Regions from separate parts of the Homo sapiens genome. Here region 2 is linked to region 1. The links are contacts of gene promoters, found by promoter capture Hi-C in blood cells and fetal thymus (Javierre and others, 2016). All regions are on one chromosome and are shown on one strand. The core of a region is centred on a gene start or on the middle of the fragment in contact, and the rest is flanking DNA. Distances in the headings are between cores, read along the strand shown.

The links. Contacts are between HindIII fragments. The CHiCAGO score rates a contact against its expected background, and 5 or more counts as called.
Region 2: the fragment with the promoter of MNAT1 here is called in contact with the fragment with the promoter of TIMM9 in region 1 in 2 of 17 cell types (naive CD8 T cells and naive CD4 T cells); the score reaches 5.5 in naive CD8 T cells.

The regions. Positions count from the first base shown.
Region 1 is chr14:58,425,069-58,429,854 of GRCh38, reverse strand. TIMM9 (translocase of inner mitochondrial membrane 9) reads left to right here and starts at 2,324. Exons shown (of 6, transcript NM_012460.4): 1 at 2,324-2,463; 2 at 2,613-2,801. It overlaps KIAA0586, which reads right to left and starts at 2,136. Exons shown (of 31, transcript NM_001329943.3): 1 at 1,392-2,136; 2 at 422-492. The coding sequence starts at 1,590. RefSeq lists enhancers at 1,865-2,054, 2,125-2,174, 3,189-4,132. The HindIII fragment of the contact is 11,466 bases long and covers 1-4,786 here.
Region 2 is chr14:60,732,368-60,737,153 of GRCh38, reverse strand. It overlaps MNAT1 (MNAT1 component of CDK activating kinase), which reads right to left and starts at 2,393. Exons shown (of 8, transcript NM_002431.4): 1 at 2,203-2,393. The coding sequence starts at 2,291. RefSeq lists enhancers at 2,100-2,169, 2,280-2,379. The HindIII fragment of the contact is 2,495 bases long and covers 501-2,995 here.

The DNA.
Region 1 (4,786 bases), core at 1,075-3,574:
AGAACCTCCCTTCTAAGAAAACCAAAACCATTCTCACAAGTGTTAGAATGACATGCAAGCACACCTCACATTAAAGAAAAATTGTACTGTTAGTTGTTCCTTTTCTTTTACCTAAGAACATGTTAAGTCTCTGGGCAAGAACACCTTTTCCCTGAATAGTAAGAGAGTTTCTTTTCAGTTATCCTATCTCTTTCAGCGGCCATTATCTTACTAATAGGTATTTTTGATTCTAGGGAAGGCCTTTTGTTTAATGTCTCAAACACCATTCAAAGTCACAATTGTAGTATATAAAACATTTGTTTTGGTAAGTGATATTTAAATAAAAACAAGGCATGCTGCTAATCAAACATAATTTAAGAATGCATTATTTGACAATACTGAAAATTTTAACGTGAGCATAATTAAGAATCCTTTTGCTTACACTTTCTGACACCATGGGATTTTCTAATAGAGGCTGGTAACAATTTCTAGCAGAAGTTAAGTCTGATGAACCTAACAAAACAAAGGAATAGATTTTAGTGATTTTAAAATCAGATCCTTAGCTTTAGAAACTGTATATGCATGATTCAAGATCTATAAACTCCATATAACGCAGAAGTTGGAAAGACAATTTGCATGCAAAAAAAGTTAAGAAAATGTATTTAAACATATCTGAATGAAAGTTTTTACAGTTGATATTTGGGAAAATAAGGTTCGGTACTGACAATAAAGTGAGATTAAGCACGAAACATTTTAAAATATAACCATACACTATTGGATGTGGACAAACTATGGGTAGAAATATGTATACGATGTAAAGGTCTAATTTAACAGCAGTACTATTTGAGTGTCACCGCTGTATCCCCCAAAGAACAGCATTACAAAAGCGTTTTGCTGTTTTTGCTCACATATTCATTAATTTAATCCTCACAATTAGCAGCGAAGTGGGTAAAGCATATGTTATCCTTATTTTCACTGAGCTCTAGACAGATTAAGTGAATTGGAATATAGAAGCCATCAATTGGCAGAAGTCCTGCTTTTCCCACTATGAAAAGAAAGTAGTGAATTAGGTAAAAAGCACTACTTTGGGGGAAAACTATAAAAAACACTACGTGGGGGAAAATAAAGCACATTATACAAGTTAAGTGTATCCACCATAAATATAAAAAAAAAAATATGCAAAAGTCAATGCAAAAAAAAAAAAAAAAAGCACAACAGGGGACGTTAAAGTTTCATTCATTCCATCTATTCAAACATTTTATAGGCTTCCTGGCCATTTTCCCGGGAAACAGGGTCAGTTTTCAAACATCTGTACAAACTAGACTTATATCTTACGTTTGGGAATTTAAACAAATAAGGACTAAAGATTTACTAAACTAAAACTGGTTGAAAAACTACATGGAATCACATACCACGTGATGTTCCATTCAAACTAGTCCCCGTTCCAACAGGAAGACGTTTATTTGCAGACAATGCCGGAGGAACACAGGGCAACTCATCTTTCAGCAAAACCAAATGATCTCCATGATTTTGAGAAACTACCTCACGAAGTCTCTTCACTGGCATCTTAATCTTTTTTTTCTTCTCCAAGCTGACCTCAGAGCCTTTCATATTGTTGGTCACAAAACAAGTCCCACACTTAAGGACGGAAAAACTTTCTCTGTTTCCTTAAGACTTCAGAACAAAATTTTCACCTCTTTGCAATAACTGTTTTTAAAATGTCGAACATCCACAAAGCTGAAAATCTAAATTCTGATATTGAATCCAGGATTAGAGCTGACTATAAAGTCATATTTACCCATTAATCCCACTCAGTCTATTAATACACCACGCCAAAATGTGAAAGTGGGGATGACAAGAGAATGGCCACAGGAGCAACAATAACCATAACAGTGCACTCCCCAACCCCAGAGCTGGTAGGGCAAAACCAAACACATGTAGTGGCGGGCTTAAAATTTGTTGAGAAGAGGCAGTCAAGCAAATAAAAGCGAAATGCTATTTTTAAAATAATGACCCACATAAGAAGCGTAATAGCTTTCTTCAGCCACAGAGTCTTACACACCCCTCCAGATGCAATCGTCGGAAACATAAATTCACCCCTACGTATCTCCAGAACGCCCGAGACCCGCACCGTCGTGGGTGTAATCTGACAACAGCGTCAGTTGCCCGCAGGTCAACACCCACTTCCCTTCAAACCCGCCCTTGAGACACAACACGCATGCGCGCCAAGAAACTCACCCAAAACATCCAACCAGAAAGCTAAGCGCTCTCTGGTGCTCTTCCATTCCTCTCCGGGTGGAAACAAACTCCGGACATAACAGGGGTTTATTTATTTATTTATTTTAAGGTAGCACATTGCCGCACAAGACCGCTCTACAGTCTCATCCAAGACTTGAAGAGCTCCCGACTTGTAATACTACTTGTGTTTACCAGGGACTGTTGACACTGCTTCGCTTCCGAAGACCGTTAGGGACGTGGGATTAGGTAAATTAGGCTTCCAAGAAGTTTCGACAGATTCGGGTCATTATTGGAGAGGAAGTCGGGAATAGAAAGCGTTGTCTAAGCAGAAAATAACCGAAGTTAATCCTTAGGAGATTTTAGAATTCGCTGATGGTACCTGCTTTTTCTTCTAGATTTCCTCGCGTTATAACGAATCGGCGTCTAAGGGTTTAAGTGTCACTTGACATTACTGCTCCCACGTGTTCTTTCCCATCTGGCGGCCGCGGCTCCTGTCCAGACCCTGACCCTCCCTCCCAAGGCTCAACCGTCCCCCAACAACCCCCAGCCTTGTACTGATGTCGGATGCGAGAGCCTGTGCTTAAGTATGGTGTCTGTTCTCTGCCGTGAGAATCCGGGGTTCCCGGACGGGGGGTGGCAGGCTACGCTCCAGGAAAGTGGCGGGGTCTCCCGAGGAGGCCGCCGCACGTACCTGGAGCAGTGGGGGGTGCGAAGCGGGACAGCGCTTCGCCGGGTCGGGTGCAGACCTTCCTGGAGATGGTGTCACCTGGGCGAGGGTAGGAACTTTAGGCCCTGAGCCACCCCCAACCCGGATCTGGGGAGTCGGGGTCCTGTTTTGGGACACTGAATTAGACTATAAGGTATTTACGATGTGACCTTGAGCTGCCCGGGGGAAGATCCTCCTTTAAATGAAAATCGTCTTTAGACATAATACCAGGTCTAACACCCCTTCCCTGATCTGCTCATTTCCCAGGATGCGCTACTTAGAGCTTTCCCTTTACGCCTTACTGGAGGCTTTAGAATAATCAAAGCAGAAAATGTAATCCGATCTAAAAGCTAAATAACTAATTTTATTTCTTTTACATCTCGGCAGTCTACCTTCATAGAAGTCTAGACTTAAAATGGACTTTAAAGTCTGAGCGCGGTGGCTCACGCCTGTAATCCCAGCACTTTGGGAGGCCAAGGCGGGCGGATCACGAGATCAGGAGTTCGAGACCAGCCTGGCCAGCAAGGTGAAACCCCGCCTCTACTGAAAATACAAAAAATTAACTGGGCATGGTGGCGCGCGCCTGTAGTCCCAGCTACTCAGGAGGCTGAGGCAAGAGAATTGCTTGAACCCGGCAGGTGGAGGTTGCAGTGAGCTGAGATCGCGCCATTGTGCTCCAGCCTGAGTGACAGATCAAGACTGTCTTAAAAAAAAAAGAAAAAAAAAGACTTTAAGGGCTCAGCGTTAAAGACCCTTTTAATTATTATTTTTTTGTAACTTGCTGAGTTTCTCTAATGAGTTTTGTGTTGTTTTTTGAGACAAAGTCTCACTCTGTGGCACAGGCTGGAGTGCAGTGGCGCGATCTTGGCTCACTGCAACCTCCGCCTCCCAGGTTCAAGCGATTCTTCTGCCTCAGGCCTCCTGAGTAGCTGGATTACAGGCGCCCGCCACCACGCCCAGCTAATTTTTTTTGTATTTTTATTAGAGACGGGGTTTCACCATGTTGGCCAGGTTGGTCTCGAACTCCTGACTTGATTCACCCGCCTCGGCCTACCAAAGTGCTAGTATTACAAGCGTGAGCCACCGCACGTGGCCATTATTTTTTATTTTAGTTACATTTTCTCTTCGTAATTGGGCTCATAGGTGGTACTTGTTTGTTCACAATTTATTGTATATTATGAGTGTACTGAAAGAACTACAATGTCAGAGTCGCCAGAGACCTTGGAGATAGTTTAACTCTTACCTTCTAGGTGAAACTTATGTGAAAGAAACAGTGACCTAAGATCTGAGTGTAGGCACTCTGAATTATTAAAATGACAACTTAATTTGGATCTTACAGCTCTTTGTCATTACTCTTTAGTTCCTTTCCCTCTTTTTTTTTTTTTTTCCAGAGACAGGGCCTTGCTCTGTCATGATCATAGCTCCCTGAAGCCTTCAACTCCTGAGCTCAGGCAATCCTCCTGTCTCAGCCTCCTGAGTAGCTAGGACTACAAGCACTTGCCACCACGCTGGCTAATTTTTTACTTTTTTGTAGAAACTAGGTCTCGCCTTATTGCCCAGGCTTATTTTCTCAGCTCACTGCAACCTCTGCCTCCTGGGTTCAAGTGATTCTTCTGCCTCAGCCTCCCAAATAGCTGGGATTATAGGCACCCGCCACTCTGCCCAGATAATTTTTGTGTTTTTAGTAAAGATGGGGTTTCACCATGTTGGCCAGGCTGGTCTGGAACTCCTGACCGCACGTGATCTGCCCACCTCAGCCTCCCAAAGTGCTGGGATTACAGGCGTGAACCATCATGCCTGGCCTTATTTTCTCACTCTAAATCAGCCCTCTCAACCCCTTTTCTTTATGACTGACACTTTTGA
Region 2 (4,786 bases), core at 1,144-3,643, 2.3 Mb before region 1:
CAGTGAGTTCTCTCCTCCATTCAGAAACAGCAGTGTGTTAGCCTAGATTAAAGTACTTCTTTAAAAGGATGATTAATTAGACAACATGCTAAAGAGTTCATATTAAGAAAATTACAACAGAGTCCTTATAATTAAAGCTGTATTTTCACATTTCATAGTGTACTGAAATCATTTAAAGCTAATCATTATTGTGCAAGTATTTCATAGCAGGCCAAATAAGTCCTGTTTTAATTTTATTTCTGCTTATCACCCATGCCACACAAAGAATAATAATAATAAAATAGCCAATATATAGTAAACAAATATTATGTGACAGAATACTAAATATCTCTAAATATTTTCCATATATTATTTAATACTTAAGGACCGTGATACAAGCAGCACTATTTTCTCTATTGTACCAACAAGAAGAACGGCTAACAAAGAGTTAGTCATTTCCCTAAGGCCACAGAGCCGGTAAGAGTAAAGAATGTGAAATCAGACAGGCTCATTCCAAAGCTTGTTCTCTCAGCCAATACGCTACAGCTTTTCACTCATTTTGTTCACATTTCAAGTCAAAAAAGGACTGTAAAATGTAGCCTGTTATCTAACAGGTTAGCAAATTAACCACATTAAATGCAACACCAGAATGAATTAGACAAAAGTCTTAACTCTTAGATCTTAACAAAAAGGGCTGAGGATACAACAAAAGCAATTTCAATTAAAATAAATATTTTATACTTGCCCAATTAAAATGCCATTTATGTTACTGAAATCGTATAATCTTCCCTGAATGGCTAAGTGCTGCTAGGCCAGAAAATTACATTTAGCATCCTTCTGGTAAATTACATTTAGTTAGTATCCTTCCCAAAAAAAAAAACAAACTCTCTTTCCTGTTCCACCATAACAAACCTGATAAAGAAAAATGGAGAGAAATTGAACGAAATCTCTCTAAAAACAGTCTATCTACAGTGTTTTTCCATGTAGAATTCCCTTTTCCATGCATTCTTCTTGATTACTTTTACCTTACTTCTAATCTTAAATCATTCAATCACAGCTCTACTATACTTCTTTGCAGAGTAAAGCAAAGGAAAATAAAGATCAATTAGAAAAGTTAAGTAAGCTAATAAATTCCATATAATAATTATAGCTACAGCTAATCATGCAATTTATGCTTACCTAAAGACCCTGTCATTGCTCTACATTTTTGTCAGCACTTGGGGGGTTGGGAGGAGACCTTGTCTACACACTGTAGATTATCCATTATTTTTTGCCTCCAATAAACCTGAAAGAAACTACAGGAATATATGCTCGCCATTACATGGCACCTTTTTATCTCAAAGTGCTTTCTAGAACCACCTTCACTAAACCACATCTGACAAGAAATCTGGCAAGAAACACTTTGACCAATCCCTGTTTCAAAATACACAAACTCAACCTCCCTCCTTCTGCCCCCTTCCCCTGAAAATGGGCGTTCTAAAGTCAGACTTCCTGGGTTCCAATTCTCTCAAGGCCCACTTAATAAGGGACCTTGAGCAGTCTCGATTTCCTTCCCTGTGAAATGGAAATACCAGTATCTACTTCATGGGACTGTTGTAGGAATGAACTGAGATAATTCATGGTAAGGCGCTTAGAACACTGTCTGGCACAAAATGTGCACTCAAATGCCAGCCATTATTATATCTTCAAAATTAACTACCTACAGTCCGGGTTTTCTTCATTTTAGTGATGGGAGTCTAACCGAACTCCATCAGGACAAGTGGGCATACACACAGGGTTTTTTAATTAACTCATACAATAAATAGCAGCAGTATATACTCAAGCAAATTTTAAGTTTTCATAGCACTTTCGCACTTTTTCAATAAAAACATTTCATATGAAATAAACACTCCAATCCCCCACGCTTTTAATCAGCGATGTCCAGAGCCCAGTAAACAACACAAAGCCTGGAAATACAGTCGGGATACTCATTGGCTATGGAAGGGGGAACCTGACAAACTGCTGGATGCCACACTGAGAACCCGCAGTTCAAAGCAGGCCAGAGCCGCTCGGGGCTAGCGGCTACAGTCTATTTAAAGTCACAACGCCTTCTTTTCCCATTTTCCTCCCCAGTGTTGAAACTAACAACGCCCTTTGCTCCCAAGACGAGGCCTAGCATCTCCCGGTCCTCTCCTCCCACCCAGCGCGTCTCTCCCCCAGGGAATCCACTGCCGCCCAACTCACAGAGTGTGTCCGCACACATTCACCATCAGCTTCAAGGAGGGGTTCCGATATTTGGTGGTCTTACACCGAGGGCAACCCTGATCGTCCATGGCGGTTTCCCTCCTACAGACTCTCGCAGGCGCCTGTTTCAGCCAGAGCCACCTACAAGCCCCCTCAGACGCGACCAAGCAGGTTCCTACCAACAGGCGCTTGGCAGAGACGGTCCCTTCGCGAAAGAGCACCGGCAAGGGGCGAGGCGCTGCAACACAAACGTTCCGGCAGTCAGTTCCCCCGGTCTTGCATCTAGGGCTTGGTCTTAGCCTTCCATAAAGCAACTTAATACCTTGAATTTGACAGGGGAACTTTTAAAATGGCAAATTATACAAAGCCTTATCTCCACGCACCCAGTTGCATTTTTCAAGGTACTGTGTCACAATTAGGAAGATAAATTCCATCTTGTTCTGTCTGGAAACATTCCCATGATTTCAAAGATTTATGAGCGGTGTACTTACTTTCTTTTGGACCATTTAATAGCCTGTGCTTTATACTTCTTTATAATTGCATAGTCATGTCAGCTCAGCTGATAATATGCATTCGCAGATACAAAATATGAAAAAGCTATCTACTCCATCAGACAGTATTTATTTCCCCAAATACCTAGGAAAAAATCATATAAGAATACATACAGAAAAATTTAGTTCTGCAATTCCAAGATCTGATAGCCTGAATATCTTTGTAAATTGTAAACCATGTTCATCACATTTATCAAGAAGGCAAATTGAAGTCTGTAAACAGCTCTATTAAATAATAAGCTTTCCCACTGTAAAGGACACATCTTATTCATCTCCAAAATAAAGATTTGTTGATTCTTAATGAGTAAGTAGACTAAGTGAAGAATTAATGAATGACTATCAAACAATAGTGTAATGTGAAAATTTTTAGTGTCAAACATTTTTTGTAACCACCTTCATCTGACCCAAACTCCATCAGAAGGGAACATGCAAACTAGATTTTTCAAATAATCTGATACAATGAGTATAAGCTATAAACATTTATAGTAATTTTAACTCATCATAGAACTTGTGTTCTTTTCAATAAAAAGTAATATTCAATTCACATTTTTAAACAGTGAACCTGGTAGGGAACCCAAAACCCAAAAATACAGTTGGGATTTCCATGGGTATAGAGAGGGATGCTGACAAACAGCTGGATACCACACCCAGGAACCAGCAGATCAAAGCAGGCTGTGACAGAGCTTTACATTAGTATGAAGACATCAAGGATTCATCTAATAAATAAACCATATCATCTCTTTGATCATAATATTGTTCCTCAACAGGAGTTAACCAAACATAAACTTACTAAAATAGGTAACACCAAATACTATGCTACTATGCTGACCCGGAGGCTTATTATGCTGCTGCTATTGTCTTATTGAAAGACCACATCCAGACCAGTTACATGATTCAGAGTGAAGCTCTTCAAGAACAAAGGCAACTCTAGTACTTTATATTTTGGACCATTTAATAGCCTGTGCTTTATACTTCTTTATAACTGCATAGTCATGTAAGCTCAGCTGATAACATACAAGAAACTTCTGGTGAAAGAATGAATATGTCATATGTGCAAATAAAATTTTTAGCCAATACTACATTGAGGTCATCCACTCAGATGGCATTATAGTTTATTGCCACTAGGACAATTTTTGTGTGTTTGTTTGTTTGTTTTGAAACAGGATCTCCTTCTGTTGCCCAGGCTAGAGTGCAGTGGCCCGATCACAATTCATTGCAGCCTTGAACTCCTGGGCTCAAGTCATCCTCCCACCTCAGCCTTCTAAGTAGCTGGGACCTCAGGCACTAGCCACCAGTCCCAGCTAATTTTTTATTTTATTTTTTTAAGAAATGGGATCTCACTATGTTGCCCAGGCTGGTCTTGAATTCCTGGGCTCAAGCAGTCCTCCTACCTCAGGCTCCCAAAGTGCTGGGATTACAGGCATGAGCCTGTAATGATGCCCAGCTATCCAGGACAGTTTTAATTACGTCTTTGAAGATGAGACCCCAACCACGTTGCGAAGTGAATTGCTTTTCCTTTCTCCCAAAACTTAAGATTAAGGCAAAGAAAGCACTAAAGATTGTGAGAAGCAGCAATGCTACAAGCTTTATCCTTTTCCTAGGTGGGAAACTACTAACTTGGAAGCATGGTAGCAACAGCTGACTTGGAAATCTGTCAGATAAGCTTTACTTATGGACCTAAAGACAGTAGAAAATAGCACTTATAGATTTGGTCTCTAGTACCAAGAGAGCTGAATTCAAGTGCTGGCTTCATCACATGATTTATATGACCTTGAGCCTCAGTTTTCCCAATTCTAAGTTCAGGATAGTACTTGTAAAGAATAAAAGATACTTCATTTAAAACACCTAGCATAGAGTAAGAGCTTAGTAACTGCTGGCCATTATTAATGGTAGCATTAGGATACTGGCAGTAGTATTATCTAAAAGAGGCGGGACAATATAATAATAAGAGCCCAACCTTCTTTTACATCAGTCAGACCTGTGTTTGAAGCAAATTTCCAATCCTCCCGTTCCTGTTTCCTTCTTGCATATAA